Linked DNA regions of Homo sapiens: regions 2 and 3 are each linked to region 1. The links are contacts of gene promoters, found by promoter capture Hi-C in blood cells and fetal thymus (Javierre and others, 2016). All regions are on one chromosome and are shown on one strand. The core of a region is centred on a gene start or on the middle of the fragment in contact, and the rest is flanking DNA. Distances in the headings are between cores, read along the strand shown. Region 1 holds the start of C18orf63 (chromosome 18 open reading frame 63). Region 2 has its middle 54 kb from the start of TIMM21. Region 3 has its middle 50 kb from the start of CYB5A.

Region 1 (2,941 bases), core at 255-2,754:
ACTAAATTATCCAGCTTTCAAATTCTATTGGAGGCACAGTTTACAGTTGATAATTCATAAGGTATACCTTTGAAGTCTACATTACATTTTACTACAGTAACAAAAACTGGAATATAAAAGTAAAGCAACCCAGTGAAGCTTCAGTACACTAACATGCACAAATACATTAGGGAAAAGTAAGCTGGACTCTAGTACTTTCAACTTTTCAACATCAACATGCTTTTTCTTTTTAAGAAAGAATAATATACTGGCCCGGGAATGTGCAGTGTGACCAGCCTTCTGATCACAGTACTGAAATGAGTTTGTGGTGTCATCTGAGGAATGCTGGCAATGCCAGCAGGAATGTAATACAGTAGGAATGTAAATTCCAGGTCACCAAAAAATTCCTGGGTGCAAGTCCTCCCGTTTTGCCAATCTTCAAATACTCACGGATTGCAACACTGTATGTAAACAAGAGTGATCTGTTCAGGGATAAGCATGAATTTATTAGAATTATTACTATTGTTTAATTTTGTGAGTTCCTAGTTGGCAAAACTTGCAGATTCAAAAAGAATGTTGTTTTCTTTGGCTAGGCTGTAGAACTATATTGTGAAGCTCAAAACGTGGGCCAAGCCTTATTATGATCTACGGATGCGCTATTAACATCCTGTCCAGGGAGTCGCTCCACTACGTTTCTGTCCCAGGATTTCATCTTTATTCCCAATCCCCAGCAGGGCAAGGAACAAGTGCTAGGAGCAGGCAACAGGCACCTACGCAATTCTACACGTGAGGGAGGACTCAGAGAACCCCAAAGGACCAAAACTCTGGGAGCGCCCAGCTCCTGCAGTGCTGTGCGCTAAGCCTCGGGACCGCCGCTACGAGGGACCCTTCCTAAAAATCCTCCCGGGGCGCGGGGTTCAGGGCGGCCCCAGACCCGGCTTGCCGCTGCCCCCAGGCGAGCGCCCACCCCTCTTCCGGCCTGGCTTCTGTGAGAACAGTAATGGACGTGAGTGGAAACGAATCTAAGGTCTTTGTTCAGCTAAATCCATTTTAAAAGGTGATTCTATAAATTTCCGATATAATGAAATGCCCGAAAAATTGGGACTCATGGGTCTTTGCAGATGAATACATTTTTTTCCTGACCCAAACCAACGTCCTCAGGGTGCCGGCGCCGGCACCGGGATCCTGCCCTCATGGCGGCCCTGACCTGCTCCTCCGCAACCGTGGGGAAGAGAATCAGGAAAATGGTCTTACAAACTGGAAAAGCAACACTTCTAACGCCCACGGCCTCCTGCACTGCAGATGCGTCAGGCGTCTCCTCAGGGGGAGGAAAGGGCGGGTGGGCGGCAGGGCCTCCAGCAGTCTCCCTCGCTTCCGCTCTGCCTCCTTCAAGCAGCTGCCCCCCAAGGCCAGGCCTCTTGGTCTCTGTGGGGCGTCGATTGAGAGCCCGCGTGCCTCAGCTCCCTCCTCGCTGCCCTCAGGAGACGCTCCCGGCTCGCCCCGCGTGCCCTGCCTTCATCGGAGTGTCCCCTCGTGCCCTCCTCACAGCCCTCGGGAGCCAATCCCAGTATTTCCCGCGCTCTCCCAGCGTTCCCTGCGCTCTCCCAGCATGCCCTGCAAGCCTTGCGCTCCTGGCACGCAATGTAGGTCAACTTTTCCCGCCAAGGCAGGAACCGACCAAAGCTGGTCACGGATGACCCAGTGAAGCCCTGTGAGATTCTCTCAGCCTGAGCTGGTGTGGGTGGGGCCGGGACACAAGGTTCTGGCCGCCCTCGAAGGCGGGAAAGCTGGGTCAGCGCAACACGTCCAACGGGGAGCTCCGGCGCTGAAGCCCCGGCTAACTGCGTGCTGCACAGGGGCTACCCAGCCTCTTGCCTCGGCACGTTTCTCCTCAGATTCTCATGCCCGAATTTACAGCTTCTGCAGTTCCTTTAGTGGTGGGAATCTCCATGACTGGAACATCTTCATGCCTGGTGTGGAGGGGAAGCGTGGTGCAAGCTCGTGGGAGTAAATCCACGAAGCGCCTACTGTGTGCAGATGCGTTTCTAAGGTCTGCTGATAGAGCACTAAGCAAACAGCATTCCCGGTCCTTGTGGGATGCACATTTTACTTGGTAGTTGGGGGAAAACAGATACGCAAGATAAATGTGCAAAATCTTAGTGTGGCAGATGGTGATAGGTGCATTGGAGAAAAATTAAGTAGGGTAGGGAGGCGGGGAGTGCCGAGGAGAAGTCGTTAGGTTTAATAGCGTGGTCAGGAAGGCCTCGTGGAGAACGGGACGTTTGAGAAAGACATGAAGGCGGTGAGAGTGGGCAGCCTCGTGCATGTCTCGGGGGAGAATGTTTGTTACGAGAGAGGGAATCCTACAAAAGGCCAGGGCAGGAGGGACGCCAGCTGGCTGCAGTAGAGCAGGAAAGAAGTGGCTCCGTGAGGCAGGAGGAGTTACAGAGAGCCAGACAGGGTTAGGCCCGATAAGCCATGGAAGTATTAAAGGTGCATCCAGCCTGCTGTGCTGGAATGGACTGAAGGGGACAGGGAAAGGAAGAAAAGCAGTTAGGAGGCAATGGCAATAAGGAGAGAGGTGGCTTGGATCAGAGCAGTGGCAGTGGAGGGAATGGGATGGGATGGGATTGGATTCTGGATATATTTTGAAATTAGATTTAATAGGATTTGGATATGGATTGATGTGGGATCTGAGAGAGAGGGAGAGGAATCAAGCATCACTCCAAGGTTTTTATACTAAGAATTCAGAAGGATTGGGTTGCCATTAATTACAAAGGGGAAGACTAAGAGGAGCAAGTTTGGGGCTGAAGATCAGGAGGGTTCATGTCAGTTTTGGACTTGTTGACATTGAGAAATGAAGAGGAACAATAAGAGTTCTGGGGAAAGATCTGCATATAATAGATGCTATTTAAAACCTGAGGCCAGATTGGATCTCCATGAGAGTGCATTTAGGAAGAAA
Region 2 (2,941 bases), core at 204-2,703, 110 kb after region 1:
CCTGCCACTCCTGATTCTATGCACGTGGCCTTGGTGAGACTGCTGGGCTTCCCCTGCATCCCACCTCCCAGCCCATAGCTGGCAGGTCCGGGATGGCCTCTCCTGGGACTTTCTGAAGCAGAGCCAAAGAGGAGCCCATCCCTGACACGCAGGCTGTGAGGCCACTGTGCAGCCTTGTTCCTGGCCCACCAAGGAAGCCAGCTGCACCGCGTGGAGGGAGCTGACGTGCAGAGAGGAGATCCTCGTGGGGTCAAGGCCTGACCCAGCTATCCTTGAAGGCAGCTGCATCTCTGGCCTTCTTATATCTGGCTGAACAATCCCCACCCATTTTTTTTTTTTTTTTGATTCCAGAGGTTGTTAAATTTCCTTTATGCCTAAACTTGCTTGAGTTGTGTTTCTGACACTAGATGCTAAAAAAGTCTGACAGCCGCATAGCCTTGGGTTCTGGAAGGCAAGCCACAGAAACCTGTCCATGTGGCTACTGTGTGTTACAGCCTTTAAGGCCTTCCCCCAGCTCCCCTGAAGCTGGAGTCCCGGGGCAAGGGCACCCACCAATTATGGGTTGAAATGTGTCCCTTAAAATTTCATATGTTGAAGTCCTAACCCCCAGTACCTCAGAATGTGACCTTATTTGGAGATAGGGTCTTTATAGAGGCAATCAAATTCCAATGTGGTCATTAGGGTGGGCCCTAAGCCAGTATGACTGTGTCCTTTTCAAAAGGGGAAATGTGGATGCGGAGACAGACATGCATGCAGGGAGAAGGCCCTGTGAAGATGGAGGCAGAAGTCGAGGTGATGCTTCTGCACACCAACGAGCACCAAAGGTTGCCAGCAGCTGCCAGAAGCAGGGAGAGAGGCCAAGAACAGCTTCTCTCTCCGTGCCCTCGGAAGGAACCAGCCCCTGGGCACCTTCATCTCGGAATTCCAGCTTCCACAGCTGTATCTAAGTCTTCCTGGGTGTGGTTCCTTGTTATGGCAGCCCTGGGGAAGAACATGGTGCCATCCCCGTCACGTGGGCACTGAGAGCACCATCATGGCCAGGGAGGCCAGCCCTTCCTTCTGTGGCCATGGGAAGACCGTACTCTGTGGGCCGTGCTGTGACTGGGCTGGTGACCCTCGTGGGCCGTGGCTGTGACTGGGCTGGTGACCCCCAGGCTCCACACATGTGCACATCAGCTTCCTCTAGAGCCATCTTCCATGATCTGATTCAAACGCTGGACTTCTCTTCTACTAGACCAGAGCCTCGAGGCCAACTAATCTTCAACGAAACTGAAAAAATGATTTCCAGCAACTGAGCTACTCTCACAAGTATAGAGGATTGAGTAGGATTGGGCATCAAGCATAAATATGGATTTGAGATGTCCTTTTGGAATAGCACAACTCATATGGTATCACTGCCTCAGGGGCTGGTCTCTTGGGATTCCTGGATCCCCACATTTTGGACTCATTGCGCTACTGAAGTGAGAGGATGGAGAGGACTTGGAGATCACCTGTGTCCCTCATCTTACCAATCACTGGGGTCCTGGGCTCTGACTGGCCTGAGGTCCTTCTGCCATCACAGAGCAAAACAATTCACTTGGCAGCTTCTGCTCCTCCCATGTCCCAAGGACCCCCTGCCCAGGGTTGGGGCCCATTGAGGCATCCAGTCACCAGCTCAGACTGAGACCCTTTCCTGTAAGGCTTCATGCAGATACCCCTCATATCTGTGGGGTCAAACCCCTCAGCTCCAAATCTCTGAGCCTCTGAATGCATAATCTGGTTGTGCGTTTTGGTTAGATTGATCAAAGCACAGCAGGACTCACCTTTAAGTTCTCAGGTGACAGCAGCATTATCAAAGCCCTTCTTGGGTTTATTTCTATTTCTAGTTCCTAGGGAAGAGAAAAAAAAAAAGGGGATGATATATAACACTGAACAAGCATTTACTTACGTAATCTCATTTAATCCTCACAGCCAGCCCACTGTATTAGTTGCCCAGAGATGCTGTAACCAAGTACCATAGACTAGGTGGTGTAGTAACAGAAATTTACTCTCCCACAGCTCTGGAGGCCAGAAGTCCAAAATCAAGGTGTCCTCAGGGCCATTCTCCCTCTGAAGACTCTAGGGGAGGGTCCATCCTGCTTCCTCCAGCCTCTGGAGAGGTGGTTGTTGGCAATCCTCTCTGTTCCTTGATATGTGGGTACATTACTCCAATCGCTGCCTCTGTCCTCGCCTGGCCTCTGCATGTGTATCTCTCTGTGTCCCACCTCTTCCCATAAGAACACCCGGCACTGGACTTAGGGCCCATCCAAATCCAGTATGATCTATCTTCATTCACACATTAATGATATCTGCAATGATTGTATTTCCACATAAGGTCACATTTACATATCTTTTTGGGGGGATGCAGCAAACTTCCAACACTTACCTTGATTTTATAGATGACCAGGTCAATATTTAGAGCAGCTAAGTCATCTTTCAGGTTTTAGTTTGTGTTGGGGATGCAAAATTTCTCCTCAGCCCTTTTAGAGTTGCTAGATGAGCCCAGTGAATCCACTGACAGAGACAGCTTCAGAGGAGAAAAGTAGGCAGATTTTATTAAGTAATTTTTGTATAGACATGGGAGCCCTCACAAGAAAAACGAAGACCCAAAGAAGGAGTTGGGGCCACGAACTTATGCACTAGGTTGAACAAAGTGTCATAAATTGTGGAAACATGACAAGACAAAGGGGCTTGGGTAGGGCAGTCAGTTGGGGGCAAATGACCAGGAAGGTAAGTGTTGGCTTCACAAGGTTTGTTTGTAGAGCACCCTGGGCTTTGACTCTGATGACAAGGATCTCTTCCTTTCTCCTGGTGGAGGGGGGGCATCTTTCACACAGGGTTTCATCTCTTGCTTACAGGAAGAAAAAGGAAAGTCAGGGTCTCCTTCTTGCACCTGCTGGTTTTCAAGTGCCCTGAGCTCAGA
Region 3 (2,941 bases), core at 173-2,672, 74 kb after region 1:
GCCATCGTGCCCAGCCTCAGTGTTTCTTATCTCAGGAGCATCCACCCAGGTCATGCCAGAAACAGGGTTTCTTCTTCACACCCCTCACCTTCGGCATTGCTTCCTACAATCACCACTCGGTTAAGAGTGGCTTCTTGTAAAGGGTGAGATGTGAAGCCAGAGGAGGGGCTTTTACTGTTTCACTCCATACTTTGTTCACTTACATATGGTTGGAATTAAATATATGACTTTTGCAGCTGAAGATAAACTGATCGCTGATGTGTACTGTTTGTTTCTAGATAGCCTCAGTGGCTGCTCTGTCTACTCTCTTGCTAGTGCCCATCCCTCCTCTCCACCTCCAGTGCCACGGCCCTCATCTAGGCTGCAGCTCGGCTGCTCTGAGTTACTGCTGCAAAAGCTCACTTCCTACTCGCATCTGGATCTGCCCAGGCCATTATTTCTGTCCTGCAGTGTATTCTCTGAGCCTCATCCAGTTCCTGAGACAAAGGAGGTGATTGTTAACTGAAGTCCCCTAACTGGTCTCCCACTTCCAGTCTCTATTTTCAATCTCTTGTGCCCATCATGATGAGATTATTCTCACTAAAACACCACTTTGATATCACTCTTGCCCCCCAGCCCCAGGCAGCTCTGAAGCACCCTACAAACTCAGCCTTTAGAGGCAGGGGGTTTTGAGAACTGCAGGATGTCCAGGCTGTGCATACTGGAGCACGGGAACTTTCAGACTCCAACAGTTTGTCAGCGTGGCAAGAGGCAGAGACAGATGTTATCTGACAAAGTTTGTCATATTCTTAGTACACCAGATCCTGGAAGCTTGTGAAACACTCTGGAAGGTCAAGCTAGTGCCTAGATCTTAGTGTCAGCCCAAAAGACTGAGGGCGAGGGCGGGCGGAAGATTATCAACAGCAAACATGTAGGAGGGCAGGGCCGGCTCGTTCTCGGAGGTCAGGGGAGTTCTGTGCTCTTGGACCTGAGTTTGATAAACTCAGTTCCTCTTTATCTCTGCTGATCTGCGGTATCTCATAACTTCAGCATGCTCGCCACTACCCTGAGTCTGTAGACTTCGGTGTTGATGAAGTTCACGTTCTTGGCACTATGGCCAGTGCCTAACAGCCTTTCCTTTTAACTAAGAATCTATTGGCTTTAGGCGCCCCCAAGTGACACCCTCCTCCTGGAAAATACTGATTATTTCAGCATCCAAGACTTACTACTGAGACCTAGCAATAACTAAGCACTTTTCTCTCTCCTCTTTGCGCCGGCTTCGTTACTGATTTACTCCTAGACTCGCAGTAACTTGCAGAAACTTGCAGAATTCACAGATGTGATTTAGAGCAGCTAAAATGTTTCTGGTTGGAGTTTTCATGTGTTAGAGAAAACAAAATCCTTTTAGGGAAACCATGGAGTAGATTTTTGCCCTTTTTCTCCAATGGTTCTTCATGTTTCCTTTAATATTTTTTCAGAGTTATCTCTCCTGAGAATCATACCCATTTGTGGCTGCTTCCCTGTATGTTTCGAGTTCAAACTGGATTCCATAACTTTCACTTCTGTCCTCATGAAACCCTTCTCACCCAAGCAAACCTGTAGCACGTGCCTCTCTCCCTGTGTTCCTCTACAGCTTTAAAGCTCTCTTCTCTTTGGGATTACAAAGTATCTAGTATTTGTCAGTTTCCTGAGCCATGACTTTGCAAAGAAAAAACAATACAGGCCTGATGGCATTACAACTTCATAAAAAATTAATTTAACGGTGCTCATAGATTGCCTTAATTTCTTTCATGATTTCGGGTTGGCTGTCTCCTCTCCCTATTTTTAGAATGTAGTAGATAGAATGCCCTTAACTATATGGGTGGATGGTTGATTACTCAAAGTCAGGTAAAGTGGAAAACGATTATATTTTAACTCATTTTAAGTTCATTTGCCAAGAGCTTTTTTGATTTATCTTTTGGGTCTGGATCCTCTGATAGGAGTTCTGTAACCACGATGCATCCGAAATGTCCCTTTCTCTTACTTTAATGTGGAATGAGAACGTAAAGAAGCTTCCAAAGCTATCTCCATACCATAGAAGTCTTAGAGTTTTAGAATTTTTCTTCCTGGTCTTTTACAGCTGCCTTGCACATGCCTAATGAGTCATTTTAACAATCCCTTTATCAAAGCTTTTAACAGCATCCAACATAGTTTTTATGGGGACATCTCTCCTTTTGAACTTGTATTTTTCCTCAGGTTACATCATATTCAATTAGTGTAATTGTAAATACATTTAAAGCTAATATAATGCCGGGCATGGTGGCTCACACCTGTAATCCCAGCACTTTGGGAGGCTGAGGTGGGCGGATCACCTGAGGTCAGGAGTTCGAGATCAGCCTGGCCAACGTGGCAAAACCCCATCTCTACTAAAAATACAAAAATTAGCTGGCCATGGTGGCGGGTGCCTATAATCCCAGCTACGTGGGAGGCTAAGGCAGGAGAATTGCTTGAACTCAGGAGGTAGAGGTTGCAGTGAGCCAAGATCGTGCCACTGCACTCCAGCCTGGGTGACAGAGTGAGACTCCATCTCTAAAAAAATAAAATAAGAAATAAAGCTAAAATAAGCAGAGTGGGAACAAGTACACTGATAAGCGAGTTGGAGCAGGAGTGTGCAGGCAGTCAAGAAGGCAGGCAACTGTGCAGGTCAGTACCCCGTGGGCATTGATTATTTGCATTTCAGAGGACGTGGAGAGAGACAGGTAAGCTGGCGAGTAAGCTGAGCTGAACTGATGGAACTTCCTCTGAAGTTTATACTGCTGAATCTAGACTATCGCTTTGTTCTCCCCTATCTCGAGCTCACATTATAAATTTCCATTTATAATTCTTGGTTCTCTGTGTATTCTCTCAGAAACAACTGCCATTGTATGAGTAGGAGTTACCTGTCTCTCAGTGAAAGAAACCCAAGCAAAGTTCTTTCTAGTAG

Evidence for each region. Contacts are between HindIII fragments. The CHiCAGO score rates a contact against its expected background, and 5 or more counts as called.
Region 2: a contact is called between a fragment that was not itself captured here and the fragment with the promoter of C18orf63 in region 1, in 4 of 17 cell types (M0 macrophages, M2 macrophages, erythroblasts and 1 more). The highest score is 8.6, in M0 macrophages.
Region 3: a contact is called between a fragment that was not itself captured here and the fragment with the promoter of C18orf63 in region 1, in 1 of 17 cell types (erythroblasts). The highest score is 5.2, in erythroblasts.

What each region holds. Positions count from the first base shown.
Region 1 is chr18:74,314,402-74,317,342 of GRCh38, reverse strand. It overlaps C18orf63 (chromosome 18 open reading frame 63), which reads right to left and starts at 1,504. Exons shown (of 14, transcript NM_001174123.2): 1 at 1,234-1,504. RefSeq lists an enhancer at 1,127-1,296. The HindIII fragment of the contact is 4,843 bases long and covers 141-2,941 here.
Region 2 is chr18:74,201,274-74,204,214 of GRCh38, reverse strand. No RefSeq gene overlaps it. Among named protein-coding and RNA genes, the nearest start is that of TIMM21, 54 kb to the right of the region's middle. The HindIII fragment of the contact is 6,951 bases long and covers 1-2,941 here.
Region 3 is chr18:74,240,790-74,243,730 of GRCh38, reverse strand. No RefSeq gene overlaps it. Among named protein-coding and RNA genes, the nearest start is that of CYB5A, 50 kb to the left of the region's middle. RefSeq lists an enhancer at 823-1,117. The HindIII fragment of the contact is 1,220 bases long and covers 813-2,032 here.